2 separate regions of the Homo sapiens genome follow, and region 2 is linked to region 1. Evidence: promoter capture Hi-C in human tissues and cell types (Jung and others, 2019). All regions are on one chromosome and are shown on one strand. Each heading gives the region's core, a stretch centred on a gene start or on the middle of the fragment in contact. The rest is flanking DNA. Distances are from core to core; before and after follow the strand shown. Region 1 holds the start of CMPK2 (cytidine/uridine monophosphate kinase 2). Region 2 has its middle 15 kb from the start of LINC01247.

What was found. The method cuts DNA at HindIII sites, captures the fragments that hold promoters and counts their contacts. A contact is called where the count stands out against the background at its distance.
Region 2: a fragment that was not itself captured here is called in contact with the fragment with the promoter of CMPK2 in region 1 in 1 of the 25 tissues and cell types used here (pancreas).

Annotation. Positions count from the first base shown.
Region 1 is chr2:6,861,170-6,868,842 of GRCh38, reverse strand. CMPK2 (cytidine/uridine monophosphate kinase 2) reads left to right here and starts at 2,936. Exons shown (of 5, transcript NM_207315.4): 1 at 2,936-3,821; 2 at 5,265-5,379; 3 at 7,458-7,659. The coding sequence starts at 3,147. It also overlaps a transcript of RSAD2 not described here. RefSeq lists silencers at 2,676-2,945, 3,186-3,625 and an enhancer at 2,946-3,165. The HindIII fragment of the contact is 2,409 bases long and covers 1,032-3,440 here.
Region 2 is chr2:6,356,417-6,364,089 of GRCh38, reverse strand. No RefSeq gene overlaps it. Among named protein-coding and RNA genes, the nearest start is that of LINC01247, 15 kb to the left of the region's middle. The HindIII fragment of the contact is 4,200 bases long and covers 695-4,894 here.

The DNA of each region.
Region 1 (7,673 bases), core at 1,687-4,186:
CAGCAATCATGGTTTGAGGCTCCTGTGGAGATATGCAAGGGGTGAGCAGCTGGACCTGTTATGGCAACTCTTCCCTCAAAGGTAGCTGTATCAACAGCATTTCTTTGTGAGAAAACCAACTCCAAGAGAGAGGAGAATACTCTTCAAATTGTAAGCCCACAAATTGCTAGAATGAATTTTTATTTAAAAAAGAAACAGAAGGTTATGCGGGAGAGAGCTTATCTGTTCCTTGATAACTAAGTGATCTCTGAAACTTGCTCAGTGCTTTTTAGCCCTTTCATTAACTTCTAGCCTAGGATTTGGGTTACAGAGTTATAGACTCAACATTCTATCCTGGGCTCATTTTATTAATTCTTATTTTCTGAGCTCATCATTTATTTTATAATATTCACTTTTATGAATGTGGAATTGTTTGTAATATTCTCTTTTGGGTATCCTTTTGAACTTGTGGTTCTATCATCTCATTTATTCCTATTCTGATTTGCATTTTCTTTCTTTTTCCAATTGAATTAAACTACCTAGAAACATATCTGTTTAAACATGTTTTCAAAAACTAAGCTCTTTTTCAAAGTGTTATTTTTTCATTTTATTATTTATTAATTGCTATTTATATTTTTAATTCTCCCATTCTGTTTCTTTTTTTCTTAGGAGCAGAATGGCTAGAAAAGTTTCATTTTCTCTTGTTTAATACTGTAAGTGTTGAAGATTATGGCTTTTCCTATGATATAGCTGTGCTGTTCATTCATTTAAAGACACCTCTTTGAAGTATCTTCCCAGCCTGCAGCTTCTCTCCTTTCCACCTGCAACGATGGGTGGCTACAGGCATGTTTAGTCAATATAAACATCCAGCTGTGGCTCTCAGAGTCTCTGTCCTACAAATTTGAAGGGGCTTGAAAATCTAACAGAAATTTTTATTTATGAATGAAGATATATCTTCAACATCTTCAACACTTATATAATATTGACTAAGCCCAAATACTGCAGTGTTATTAACTTTACATCTCTTCGTAGGGCGAAGGTAGGTGAAAAATAGAGAGGAAAACTTAAATTAAAAAAGGTAAGATGCTTCATTTAGCAAACTGTGTGTCAGGTTTTCTTTCAGTTGGAGGCTCAGAGAAAAGTTAGGAAGAAGCTGGTCTTCCTACTTACCCTCAAGGTGCTCAGTGGTGGGAAATAGACTGGCACGTGACTGTGGAGTGTCAAGGTCCGAGGATACAAATAGCCTTGGTGGGGGACACAGGAGAGGCTACTAACCCAGATATGTGGGGGGTTATAGGCTATATCATGTCCCCCAAAATTCATGCTCAGGCCTAGCCCCCAGTGCCTCACAGTATGACTGTATTTCAAAATAAGGCTTTCAATAGGTGATTACATTAAAATGAGAACATTATGATGGGCCCTAACCCAATCTGACTGGTGTCCTTCCCAGAAGAGGAAATTTGGAACTTCAAGGAGACGCCAAGGATGCAAGCACAAAGGAAAGGTCCCGTGAGAACACAGAGAGAAGGAGGCGGTCTGCACGCTAGAAAGAGAGGCCTCAGAAAAAGCAAACCCTGCTGGCAACTTGATCTCCAGCTTCTCTGGCCACCTGAACTTTGAGAAAACAAATTTTCTATTGTTTAGGCGGCCCAGTCCGTGGTATTTTGTTATGGCAGCCAGGATAGACTAATACATCCAGAGAGGTGGATGGCATAGGGAAAAGGTCAAGCAGGCTTGAGGATGCAGTACTGTCTTAGAGAAGAAAAGGGAGTAACTAGAAGACTCTTACTTCCATATACTACATACACGTGAAACCACCGGTACATGCTAAATGTCCAAAAGTGAAATTCCTGAGAAAGAATAAAAACTATTCTATTCTCAAAGAGCTAAAAAATTTTAAACTCCTAATTCTTCTTTCTTCTTAGCCTATTAACCCACACTCCAACCACCTATCTATATTTCACGTTTGTTAAGACTTTTTTTTTCAGAATTAAATATAATCCCAAGTTTAAGTCCAATACTATTAAGACATAAAAAAAAAACTGCTTTCAGCTCATCTAATGTTTTCAATCTTCGTCTCAATTCTATTTTTTTGAGAGAGTTTCCCTGGAGAATATTATCTTTTTGTTTGTTTTTGGTTTGCTTGACATCATTTTTAAAAGGCATCAGTTAATGAGTAAACACAGAATAAAATATCCAAATAACTGCGCAAACACTGTTACACTGTTAGGCAGTTACACTGTTAGGCAGCAACAGTGCTGATGCTGGACTGTGGCAGGCAGAGGGTGCTATCCTGACACACTTCACCTTAGTGCAGGAAACTTCAATTTGGTGGAAGAAAGGCGATTTCGAGGTGCCAATCTGGGCGACACTTCCCAGTTGGAGAGTCAGCAAAAGGGAGAGGGCAATTCCAAGAAGAGGGAAAAGCTTGTGCACAGGTGAGTGTGTGCAAAGGTGAGTGTGTGCACAGGTGAGTGAGTGCACAGGTGAGATAAGATACAGGAGAGGGAAGAGCCAGAACTGCGCCCTGTTCCCGCAGGAAAGCAGCTCTGCAGGATTAGAGGGGCGGGGACGCGTGGTCAGAGCTAGGAGTTGAGGTCGGGGAGGGAGCCCATGGTCTGCAGGGCCTGGTCAGTCATCCAAGGGCAGTAGTGCGCCTGCAAGTGGGCGTTGAAGAGCCCGTTACACCGGGAAGGGACTTCTCTGTCCCTCGCGCGTGCACCCCCGCCCCCCTCCATGCACCCGGCATAAGCCGCAGAGGAGGAACTCAAACCAGGGTCGGGGCCGCCAGCCACCCGCAGAACGCACACGGAGCTACCTTGGGGCCGACGGCGCGGGGCCTCATTCGGTGTCAGCCCCGGGAGCCGGCGCCTGGGGACCGCGCAGGCCCGCGGAGCCGCGCACCTGGGGCCCCGGGGCCAAGCGTCTGCTCCCGAGCGCCGGCCGTTTATCGCGCACATCTCGCGGCGAGGAGGAGAGGCCGGAAGGGCGCCCCAGCCCCAGGGCTCCTGCCCCGCCTGGGCCTCCGGCTTTCGTTTCCCCGCAACGCTTCGCTTTCGTTTCCCGCTGGCGCCTGGCTCCCTCCGGGTTTCGTTTCCCGCCGGCGCCTGGCTCCCGCCAGGTTTCGTTTCCGAGGCGGGGCCGAGGGCGGCGTCGCTGAGGCGCCCATGGCCTTCGCCCGCCGGCTCCTGCGCGGGCCACTGTCGGGGCCGCTGCTCGGGCGGCGCGGGGTCTGCGCTGGGGCCATGGCTCCGCCGCGCCGCTTCGTCCTGGAGCTTCCCGACTGCACCCTGGCTCACTTCGCCCTAGGCGCCGACGCCCCCGGCGACGCAGACGCCCCCGACCCCCGCCTGGCGGCGCTGCTGGGGCCCCCGGAGCGCAGCTACTCGCTGTGCGTGCCCGTGACCCCGGACGCCGGCTGCGGGGCCCGGGTCCGGGCGGCGCGGCTGCACCAGCGCCTGCTGCACCAGCTGCGCCGCGGCCCCTTCCAGCGGTGCCAGCTGCTCAGGCTGCTCTGCTACTGCCCGGGCGGCCAGGCCGGCGGCGCACAGCAAGGCTTCCTGCTGCGCGACCCCCTGGATGACCCTGACACCCGGCAAGCGCTGCTCGAGCTGCTGGGCGCCTGTCAGGAGGCACCACGCCCGCACTTGGGCGAGTTCGAGGCCGACCCGCGCGGCCAGCTGTGGCAGCGCCTCTGGGAGGTGCAAGACGGCAGGCGGCTGCAGGTGGGCTGCGCACAGGTCGTGCCCGTCCCGGAGCCCCCGCTGCACCCGGTGGTGCCAGACTTGCCCAGTTCCGTGGTCTTCCCGGACCGGGAAGCCGCCCGGGCCGTTTTGGAGGAGGTAAGAGTTCTGTCCGCTTCCAGCTCCCAGCGTGGCATCTGAACCCTTCAGACCAGAGAACTGGACCAAGAGGCTGGTCTGTAGAGCCGGTTCTTGCCTGGGTGGTTTGTTTATTTCCGTTCACAAATCAGGTAGGGAAGGTGTCCTGTATGCCAGGCAACTCTTTTAAGATTCTTGTTTGCAAGGATCTTCCAACCTGACGTGGAACATAGACCTACACCAAGCCACGCGATGCTTGCTGTAAAAGCATCCCAACAGCAGTACAGAGGGAGTAAAGGGGCTGCCGGGAGTGAGGGAAAATAATGTCAGCTGGGAAGTAATTTTATTTGCTGATGATCACCATTCAAGGATCTTGGGGTGAAAAAGAAAATGCATGAGTTTAGGGGGTTTAAGAAATTTAGACTTAAATAGTGTTTACCTACCGACTGGCCATGAACCTTGTGCAGGTTACTCAACTACTCTAAGTTTTGCCCTTTGACATGTACAATTCCCATCTTGCGATGTTGTCCTGATTAAGGAAACATCTGACTCACAGCAGGTACCCACAGAAAGAGACTGAAAATTCTTTCTGATCGCAGGCTAGGCAGATGTCCTCCTGTGACACAGATGAGCCCTGAGGATGCCCCCATGGATCTTGGGAATATTTTCCAAGCTTACGGGACAGCGTTGTGGAGCAGTTAAGAGCGCAAGGTCAACCACGTGTATTTAAATTTAAACTCTGGCATTTATTAGCTGTGTCACTTTGAGCAAGTTTCTTCAACTCTCTGCCTCAGTTTCCTTAATTCATATGGTGGGAATAATAATAGCACCCCCCCACCCCAGTTCACAGAGATTGGCAACTGAATACTTGTAAAGCACTTAGAAGATTGCCATGCTCAGAGCAAGCACATAAGTGTCTGAGCCTCGCTCTGAGATGCTGTGAGCGTGCAGTGAGATAATGCACATTGAGGAACTGGGAATTCCCAGGGGGACGCTGCTCTGCCAGCTTCATGATTGCAGTGCTTGGCTGTTTATCTCAGCCCCCTGAATGGCTAGGAGAGGACATGCTGCAGATGAAGACTGCTCTCTCCAGCCCACTGTGCAGCTGATTTCCCATTCTTGTGAGACAGTGTTCCCAGCGGGCCTGTAGTTCCATGGTTGCGGTGTCACAGGACATTGTGATGATGTGCCTTGCCTGGCCTTTCTCAAAGCTGCTCAGTGAAGGCTGCAGGCCACCAAGCGATCCAGACAGGGACAGCTGTTTCGAGCCTCGGCTGCTCAATATAAAATAAAACACTCCAGTCCATCCTAGCATCGAAATACTCTGAATTCCCATGGCCTGGCACAGTGCTCAGTATAACTTAGGCCTTATTAGCATGCGGCAATATTGTGCTCAGCAATTTAGGTGTGATTTCTGCAAAAGCCCCCTGGCTTCATTGCTGATGGATAGACGTTGTTTTACAGTGTACCTCCTTTATTCCTGAAGCCCGGGCAGTGCTTGACCTGGTCGACCAGTGCCCAAAACAGATCCAGAAAGGAAAGTTCCAGGTTGTTGCCATCGAAGGACTGGATGCCACGGGTAAGATAATATTACCTTTTAGTTATAGGCAATGACACTAACTGATTAGTTGCAGAAACAGAAATACTTCCTGCAAAACCAAACTTTATATGGAGCCTTATGTGTGCCCCTACTGTGTGGCAGGCCCTGTGCTAGGCAGGCCCTGGGATGCAGAGATGAATAAGACCTTCAATATGAAGCAGCATGATGTGTGGGCGCGGATCCTCAGTGCTCTGGCGGAACACAGGAAGGGCACTGAATCTGGCCTCTGTGGGGCTTTGTCGGGTGGAGTGCATGGTCAAGGGTGATACCTGGATTGTATTTTAAGTACAGATAGGAGTTGGTCAGGTGATGAAAGCAGGTAACATCCTCCAGACAGAAGAAATAGCCTGGGCAAAGGTGCAGGGGCTTGAACCAGGGTGGTGTGTCCAGGAACCACAGGCAATTCAGAGATTCTTCTGGAGCAAAATGTGGAAGAACTAGGAAATGGAAGAAAAAAAAGCCTTCTGAGCTGTCAAACTGAGGTCAAAATATAATGTGTGCTCACATGAGACCAAAGTACAAAAGGGGCAGACATGCTGCTCCTGTGGCCCAGGACACACTGAGGAGAGGGTTGATGTTGGAGAACTAGCATCCGAGTGGTTCAGCGTAGGAGTTTCTCCTCCTGTGTAAACTTGAGGGGTACAGACTTTTAATAATATAAAAGGCAATTTCCATATAGAGGTACTTGTGAACCCAGCTAGGGAGATGTGGCACAGGTGATGGCCCATGTTGACCATCCTGGCTCCATGTGAAGGAGCGGGCCATGTCCTGGCCTTCAGGGAGACCAGCTGTCATCACTCAAATGTACTGGCCGTGTCCAGGACCCATCACAGTTTCTTTCAGCTGCAGAGGGAATTGTAACACCATCAATCCTTCAGCTGATGTGTTTTGTTGATCATTTATTTTGTACCCACAGCTAATTTAGATTTGGTGGGATTACAGGAGACATAAAAATTCAGCCTCAACACAAGCATCCACACATACAAATGTTACAAGGAGTTAGCATAGAGTGGCAGAAAGAACACAGGCTAGTGGTTCCGTCTGCCCTGCATTTGCATCCTGCACCAAGGCCTATCAGGAGGGTGAGTTTGGGTAAATTTATTAACTTCTCCAGTGCTCAATTTCTTCTTCTGTCAGATGATTAAATAATAACTGTTTTGCAGGGTCACTGGGAGAATTAGGAGTATAACGTGCTGAGTACTTGGCTCCTAGCAGACACTGAGAAATGGTAGCTACTGTTAGGGTCCGTCCTGACAACCTAAGAAAAAAAGAAAATAGATAGTTGGCAATAAAGTGTTAAGTGTGTGATAGAGAAACTTAAAAATAAATCGAAACAGTAGGAGCTCAGAGAAACTAGTGCACAGTGTGCTGGAGTAGATCTTCTCATCACCACCTGTCCTGAGCTCCAGGCAGCAGCTGAGAATTGTGAGATGGGCTCTGGGAAGGGACTAATCTGTCACCCGAGGCTGTGCAAGGGGGAGTCAGAAAGTCAATGAGGCCTAAGCAGTGCCTTTGAGGAGAAAGCTGAAGCCTAAAGCAGATACAAAAGCTCTAAAGGCCAAGGCCAAGCCCAAAGGGGCAAGCACAGGAGTGAGTGGTAGAACCAGGGCTGGAAATTGGAAAGGGATTGCACAGAAGTGGAAGCAGGGTATGAAGAAGGTAGAAAGAGAGGAGGGGCGAGAAGAGTTGCTGTGGATGCCAGGTGTGGGTTCATCAACTATAGACAATAAGAGGAGAGAAAGTCTTCTGGGTGGGGGACATGGTAAGAGGGTGAGCAGTAGCTGGGCTGCCGGGAATAAAAGTCACACGTAAAAGGGGCTCTTGTGTCTAGACTCCCAATATCAGATTTGATCACTAACCAGAATTTTTCCTCCGGGTTTCCTAATACCACACGGAGAAATCCTAACTTCCTATGGGTCTACAGCTTTTTATAAAGAATCCTGTTATTTAGTCTACTCATTTCATTTGCAGTTTGAGAGAACGTCTGTGCTCTTTCTACGTCAATGTTAACTTTGGGGCTGTGGTTAAGATGTATATATTTTGTGTATGACCTGCAGGTAAAACCACGGTGACCCAGTCAGTGGCAGATTCACTTAAGGCTGTCCTCTTAAAGTCACCACCCTCTTGCATTGGCCAGTGGAGGAAGATCTTTGATGATGAACCAACTATCATTAGAAGAGCTTTTTACTCTTTGGGCAATTATATTGTGGCCTCCGAAATAGCTAAAGAATCTGCCAAATCTCCTGTGATTGTAGACAGGTAGGTATAAAGAT
Region 2 (7,673 bases), core at 1,545-4,044, 500 kb after region 1:
AATTGTTAAACACTCATGGCATCTAAAAGGGCCAAACTTGTGCTTACAAGGAGATGAGAAGTAATGTTGTCATCAAAGTCTAGGTTTGAAAAGGAAGCATTGAGAACATTTTGGAGAAACATCCAAATGAAGATAAAAGAGGGTAGTCTGATTCTCTATTTGAGTATAGGAGAATTATTTGATCCTCTGGCAACCCAAAGAGAAAGGATCATTTTAAAGAACTTTCAAGATGCTGCACTTTTCTTTATTTGAAGTATTTCAGTCCAAACCATTTATTAAAAGCAAAACTCTATGTGATTGGCCAACATGCAAATATGTCTTATCAGTAGAGACATGCATACAATTGTAAGTTCATTCATTCAGGTAACAATTATTTATGGAATTCTCACTTGATCCCTGGTTCCTACTGGGCACTGGTAATAGAAATGCTAGATAATAGAGACTTTGTTTCTTTCATCAAGAAACATACTAGCTAGTGACCAAATCTTTTAAAATGATAGTTTCAAAGGAAAAAAATCATATGAAGTTTGCAATCATCACGTGAATATAACAAGTAAATGTGGTCTGTTCATTATCCCTATATGAAGACAAATTCCACACAATATATTTTTCCGGAATAAAATTATTTTTTCTTTCTACCCTGTTAGATTATCAACTCTTTCAGAATAGTGATTTTATATTCCAGATTTAACTGTCATTTGTGTACTGTAAATGTTCAGAAATGGTAGTTAAATGAAATAGAAAGAGTGAGAAAAAAGTCCTTTTGGTTTATTTGGTTTTTGTTTGGTTTTGTTTTTGAGACACAGTCTCATTCTGTGGCTCAGACGGGAGTGCAGTGGTGTGTTCATAGCTCACTGCTTACAAAAAGGTTGGGATTACAGGCATGAGCCCCTGCGCCCAACCGAAACTTCTTGCCTTCAAGAAGAGTTGCTGTTCAACGGGCATAAAGTTTCAATTATAAAAGCTGAATACGTTTTAGAGATCTGCTGAACAATATTGTTCCTATAGCTAATAATACTTTATTCTGCACTTAAAAATGGATTCAGAGAGTAGAACTCATGTGAAATGTATGCTATGGTCTGAATCATAGTGTCCCCCTGAAATTCATCACGGTGAAACCAAACTCCCCACATAAAGTGGAAGTTTTGGGAGGTGATGAGATCGTGAGGGTGGAGCCCTTGTGAATGGGACTAGTGTCCTTGTAAAAGAGGATCCAGAGACAGCTGTCTTGCCCCTTCCACCATGTGAGAACTCAGTAAGAAAGCACTGTCTATGAACCCGAAAATGGCCCCTCACCAGACACAGAATCTGCGAATCTGCCGGCACTTTGATCTTGGACTTCCAGCTTCCAGAACTGTAAGAAATAAATTTCAGTTGTTTAAAAGCATCTAGTTGATGGCACATTGTTATATAAGCCGGTACAGGCATAAACAGTGTTCTTAAGACAACAATAAAAATGTAATAGATCGGGGAGAACAAATGCACGAATAATGCATTATAAACAGTGAGATTGGAGTTAAGGAAGCGTACGTGATGTAGGATCAGGGACAGGCAAACTCTGTGTGTGTGTGTGAGAGAGAGAGAAAGAAACAGAGATAGATAGACAGACAGACATACACATACACACAGAGAGAGAGAATTTCATAGGGGAGATAACTTTTGAGCAGATTTATTAACAATGAGAATAAATTTCAGGCAAAGAGAAGAATATACATTGTCCCAAAGGTCAAAATGCTGACACATTTTCCTGAGTCCAGGAAGCTTCTTTGTTTTTTGTTTGTTTGTTTTTGCTTTTTTTTTTTTTTTTTTTTTTTTTGAGACGAAGTCTCACTCCATTGCCCAAGCTGGAGTGCAGTGGTGTGATCTTGGATCACTGCAACCTCCAATTCCAGGGTTCAAGCGATTCTCCTTCCTCAGCTTCCCGAGTAGCTGGGACTACAGGCACGCCTAGATAATTTTTGTATTTTTAGTAGAGACGGGGTTTCACCATGTTGGCCAGGCTGGTCTTGAACTCCTGACATCGTAATCCGCCCACCACGGCCTCGCAAAGTGCTGGGATTACAGGCGTGAGCCACCGCACTCGGTCCCCCAGGCAGCTTCTTATGGATGGACATGAAAACATTATCATCTAAATCATCATCACCCTGAGGGTTCTAAGATATATTGGTTTTTGATTTGTGTTTTATATGTTTTTCTATAACTCAGTAGAAATAAAGCCTACCTGGATTAGTTTGCTGATTTCTCCAGCAGTGTTATTTTCTCTTAAAATTAGGGCTTAGATATGGAAACGTTGCTAATGTAAAAGTTGCTGATATATTATCGTAGTATTTCATGGGATGGGCTTTGGGATGCCATTGAACTCAGTCTTCAGTGGTCAGGACTCTCCATTCTTGAAAGCTAAATGGAAGGTGATCATACATCTCCGGACATTTTCTGGCACTGTTGATTTGGTGGTGTGCTGATGATGTAACTAGTAATACATAATAATTATGACTCCAGAAGCAGAAGACTGTTCCTACAGTCTGGCAAAGACACAGGAACAGGGTTGGATTAGGATGACGTATCATAATTTTATACCTTCATGCAGAAAATAACATTTAAAAAGTGCTTCTCCAATAGCTGTGGCTGAGAATTCTCTGTTTCCTGGAGGCAGTCTGGTAACAACATTTTGCTGAATTTCAAAAGAGCACCTATAAGTAAAGCCATTATATTGACCATGCTAAAAATTTCCAAGCAAGGCGATCACCATACAGTGGCTGTGTTCTGTAAAGCAGGAAGTGCCGCCATCTCTAAAACCCTTCGGTGGATTTCAGGAGGATTAGCTCTTTAGCGGTGTCTTAGACAAGAGCTGGTTGAGGTTGGTTTGTGGTCTGGTGAGCTTTCTGCTTTTGTTCTGTCATTCCCTGGCTCCTTCTCACCCTTGACTGCTGCAGATGAGAAGACTGGGAGGAGGATTATTCTCTGGAGGGTGACGCTGAGCCCCTCTGCCAGCCGCCTGTGGCTTAGGCAGCTGTGCCTCCCAGGGACTTGGTTGGCCATGGCCCACTGGAGCCTGGAGTCTTCAGTTAGGGAGGTGTCAGAGAGGAACCATGCATTCTTGCTGTCATGGGAGGTGCAGGGAAGAACCACTGCAGGGACCTAGAAAGAGGGACCATCACCTCCCCCTTTCCAGCTCCCTACACACACACACACACACACACACACACACACACACACACACGTCTCACACACAAACTTACATAAGCCCACACCCAAATGGGAATCTTTCTGAACCATAATCAGAGACATGATATTTTTAGACTTTGTTTCAAAGGTGTTCCTCCAGGCATCTGCTTCTGCTGGGGCTCTTCTGCTTTTGCTCTCCACAACATTTCCCTCCCCTCAGGCCCCGATCTCCTCCTGCAGACACAGTCAGGCCTCATGCTCTGTGCTTGGTGATGGGGAGAGATGCAGAAGAGCCTTAGGGTCACCTGCTGTTTCAATCCCACCTCCCTCCTTTACTTGCTTGGTGACCTTCAGCAAAGCACTCAGTATCTCTGCATCCCAGTTTCTTCAGCTGTGTTTTGGGGATGACACCACCTACCAACCTCAAGGGTGGTCATGAAGGCTGCATGAGTTAATTTCTATGAAGCATCTTGGAAGTGTCCCTGGCATACAGGGCAATTTCATTCTTTGCTTTGATGAGCAATTTCTGAGCCCATCTTAGTCATGGGAATAAAGATTAGTATCTCTCCCTCCCTCCTAGGGTCTTAGAATAAAGTCCTCACCCTGTCCCAGCAGTGGAGATGCGTGCTCTGCCTCAGCACAGCTGGCTGGGTTCTTTTGTCCCCATCCCTGTGATCCAGTGCCCCAAAGGAGAACTTCCAGACCTCTGTGACGTGGAACACTTGCCTTTGCCATTCTAACCATGCCCAGACTCCAGCCAGTTATGAATGGAGGCTTCACCTTGGCACTACCCCAAAATGTTGATGGCTTGTCCGGGCTTATTCCAGGAGAAGGAGACATTCTGTTCTGAATTTCAGCCCCATGGAGGCTTTTCTGTCTTTTCTTGTTTTCGTCAGACTTTCCTCCAAAAGCAGGAATCATATCTTGACTATATTCATTGATCAAGAATTTCCTGCGCATAGAAAAATCAGAAACACACACACATAAACACACATACACACACACACGATGATCAAAAAATTATTGCTCAATAAAACAATATGCAAATGACATTAAAATGAGGTTTCAAACAATGCCTAGCTGAATAGAGAAAATGCTAATGATATAATTTAAATGAAACAGATAAGATGTAAAATTGTATATTTAACATGGTTTTATGCACTCATGATTAGATGAATAGAAAAACATGGATACTTATTTGGTGGTGAAATCATAGGTCATTTCTATAGTCTTCATAATTTTGTGCTTTTTTCCAACATTTTAAAAGTGAACTTACAGTACTTTAATAATGTGAGACAAAAAAAGCAATGAATAGTGCTATTTTTAGGAAATCTGAATAAAAGCCATTTATATAATCCCTCTGGGGACTTAGCATTATCTATATTCCCCATTCATCAGACTGAAAACCTTCTAACTCTGATATCACTGGAGGAATCCTTTGAAGAACTGCAATGCAAATTCGGAGAATTTGTTGTGGTGCCTGTCTATAAGATGAGGGTGCCTGAAACTCTTATTCCCACCCCCACCCAGGGCTAACTCTTTCTTCATTGACGGGGCTCCCTCCAGCTGCTTATTTTTCATGCTTCCAGTTTATCCCTGAATTCCAAACCTCTTCATCCTTAGAATGGAGGGCAATGGAGGGCGTCTACCTTGAGCCCAGAGTGGAAGTTTGTGTCAGCCCTGTGTGGCCAGGGATGTTTGTCTGGTGGCCAGAGGTAACACGACACATCACTGGGTACTCAGATGAAATGCGCTGACGTCATCAGACTGTGTGACTGACAAAGCCATATGGTTACACCAAAAGGACAGTAGTCTTACCTATTTCTCCTATATTCTGGAATGAGCTTTCCTTTCATTTCCACATCACATAGCCCAGAGATAAAATTATTTTAAAAAGGTCAGGTTGTGCTTTTCTGATATTGCTTATAGGCACTGCAATAAATGAAATCATCTTTAGGTATTAAACTATCAGAAATGAATATTTTGAAAAAAATACACAGAGTGCAAAAATGCACGGGAGGGACACAGTTTGCCCTTTGCCTTCTGGGATTCTAGACTGATCGGTGTTAGAGGGAACAGGAACTCTCGGATTTATTTCCCTCCTCCTGATGAGTTCCTTAGCCCATATGGAATGCTTTCAGTCTGACTCCTGTGCCAGGCAGTTTGCACTTAGGACGGATTGTCTTGGCATCTTTATTGGTTATACACTCCCTCATATTGTGAATGACATGACGTAAAACTTACTGAAGACAGAAACAAAGCATGAAGTGCTCATCACAGTTTCTGTGCTAACCTGGTTGACAGGGGGAAGGTACTGGCAGTGTTGACAAGGAAGGAACTGGGTAGGAAAGAGAGGGCCAGGCTGAGCCAGAGTTTACTGTAGCATAGCCACTGTCCGGCAGTCACATGCTGCCCCGGTGCACATTGGGGGATGCGCCCTTTGACCTGAGCAACTCTTGCAGTGTGCTATCAGGGCTGCAGTTTCCATCACAAGGGAGGAATCGACAGAAGTCCCTGCTTTGGCTCCATCACGGAGCTTATGTGTGTGTTCCTGAGAGAATCCCACCTCTTGGATGCGTTAGCCTCTCACCTCCTGCCTTCGGCTTCCTTCTTGATGCTGCAATTTTGGCACGCCAAAAATATCCTTGCTTAGCACAACCCAGAAGTGAGGGGCTACAAGTGCACAACCCGGAAATGGGGGGCTACATATATCTGATGGATAAACTCTTCCTTTATTCTCTTTGAAAAGGAATGTGCTGAGAAACAATTCCCAGAGCGTCAGTTTCCCCAGGCACCTGGCAACCTGCCTGCACTCAGTGGCTTCCAGCTTCATAGTGCACCTTCATCCTGACGTCTTCTCTTCTGCTGCCCTCTTTTCTTCCCTCAATCTTGCTCCCTAAGGTTGTGCTAAGTCTTCTCGGACTCTGGGAATCTAAGCTAAGAAACTGCTTCCTAGACAGTGCCTTCTTGCTATGTCCTCATGTGGTGGAAGAGACAAGGCGGCTCCCTGCAACCCCTTTTACAAGGGCGCTAATTCTCTTCATGAGAATAGAATTCTATTCATGAGAGTAGAATTCAGGACCTCATCACCTCCTTAAGCCCTCCCCTCTTAGCACCACCAAAGAGCGATTTGGTTTCTATGTGCATTTTGGAGGGGCTCAAGCATTAGAGCACAGCATCAGCATTTTATAATTCCCTCCTTTCCCTGGACAACCCTGTCCTGGCTCCCATACTCAAGCTACTACATCAATTTGTTTGGTTTCTCAGAAATCCCCACTATTTGAAGGACCCATGGGAATATGCAAGCATTTTGGCTCAGGAGGAGAAGTGCAGTCTCAAGGGGGATACCTGGCGCGGGGCTAAAGAGAAGAGGACAGACAACCGTGACTATCTGGAAATCAGAAAAGAGAGAATATTACAATTTGTATAAAATATTTTCATAAATATTATAACATTTTAGACGTTCTCATAAATGACTTCAAGGCATACAGAAATCAGAGTGGCTGAAACCTGAGGGAATCGCTGAGTGTCAGCACATTTGAGTAGACAATGCCAAGTGCCTGGCCAGGCCAAATGGAAATGGTTTGGGGGAGGGGAAGATATTTCAGGGACACAGACTGAAAGTCGACAGGCAAGGCGGTCCTTGGGTGAGAAACAGGAGAGGCTGATGGTGTGGGCCATACCTGGGCTTGTGTTGGAAAATGACTGCCTGGCTGTCTCCATAAAACAGTTGAGTTTTTGCCAAAATAGATGCAACATCTCTCCTAGGTTTCCCTCAGACCTGGTTTAGGGCATGATTTCCCTTAAGCAAATGATGAGGAATGAACGCAGAGGAGAGGATTGCTGTGAGAACTATTTTTCTTGCACATGTGCAGCCTGCGTGTGCCTGAAGACACGTGACACCAATTATGCCTCATTATAAGTAGGAGCCGCTCTAGATCCAAGAAGGAACACGGAGAACAATGGGATAGCACCAGTGTCTGAATAGGAGAAAAGTGATGGCAGGAAGCAACCGTATTATTTAAAGTTTAAATATACTATATTAAGTACTGGAAAAGTACAGCAAAAAGAGCTGAAAAAGTCATGAATCAAGTTATAACATTTTGAAGCACTTGAGGATGCAGTACCAGGACAAGTGCCCCTTCTGACCTGCAGAGTCTGCCTTCATCAAAATCACTTTTTACTATAATGGAGCAGCCTGGAGGTCAACCCTTTTTTCTGGGTCATCCAAAGCCCCCTCATTTTTTCCTCCCAAGCAGCGAGAGGCCATCCAACTGTGTGACATGCTTTGGTTTGGTATGTTCCAAATTCTGTAAAGAGAAATCTATAATACTGAGTTTGATTTCCTGCCAGCAGATGTCCTTCTCCATCAAATCAAAGGCAAAAGAACCCAGGCTCACTCTTCGTTGTGTCCAATTTTCTCAGTCTTGGCTCTATGGGGGTCTCTGCAGCTCTTGGGGGGTTGGGCTCGCTGCCAGGCAGCTTCCAAGGCTGGCTCTCCCCTGGCT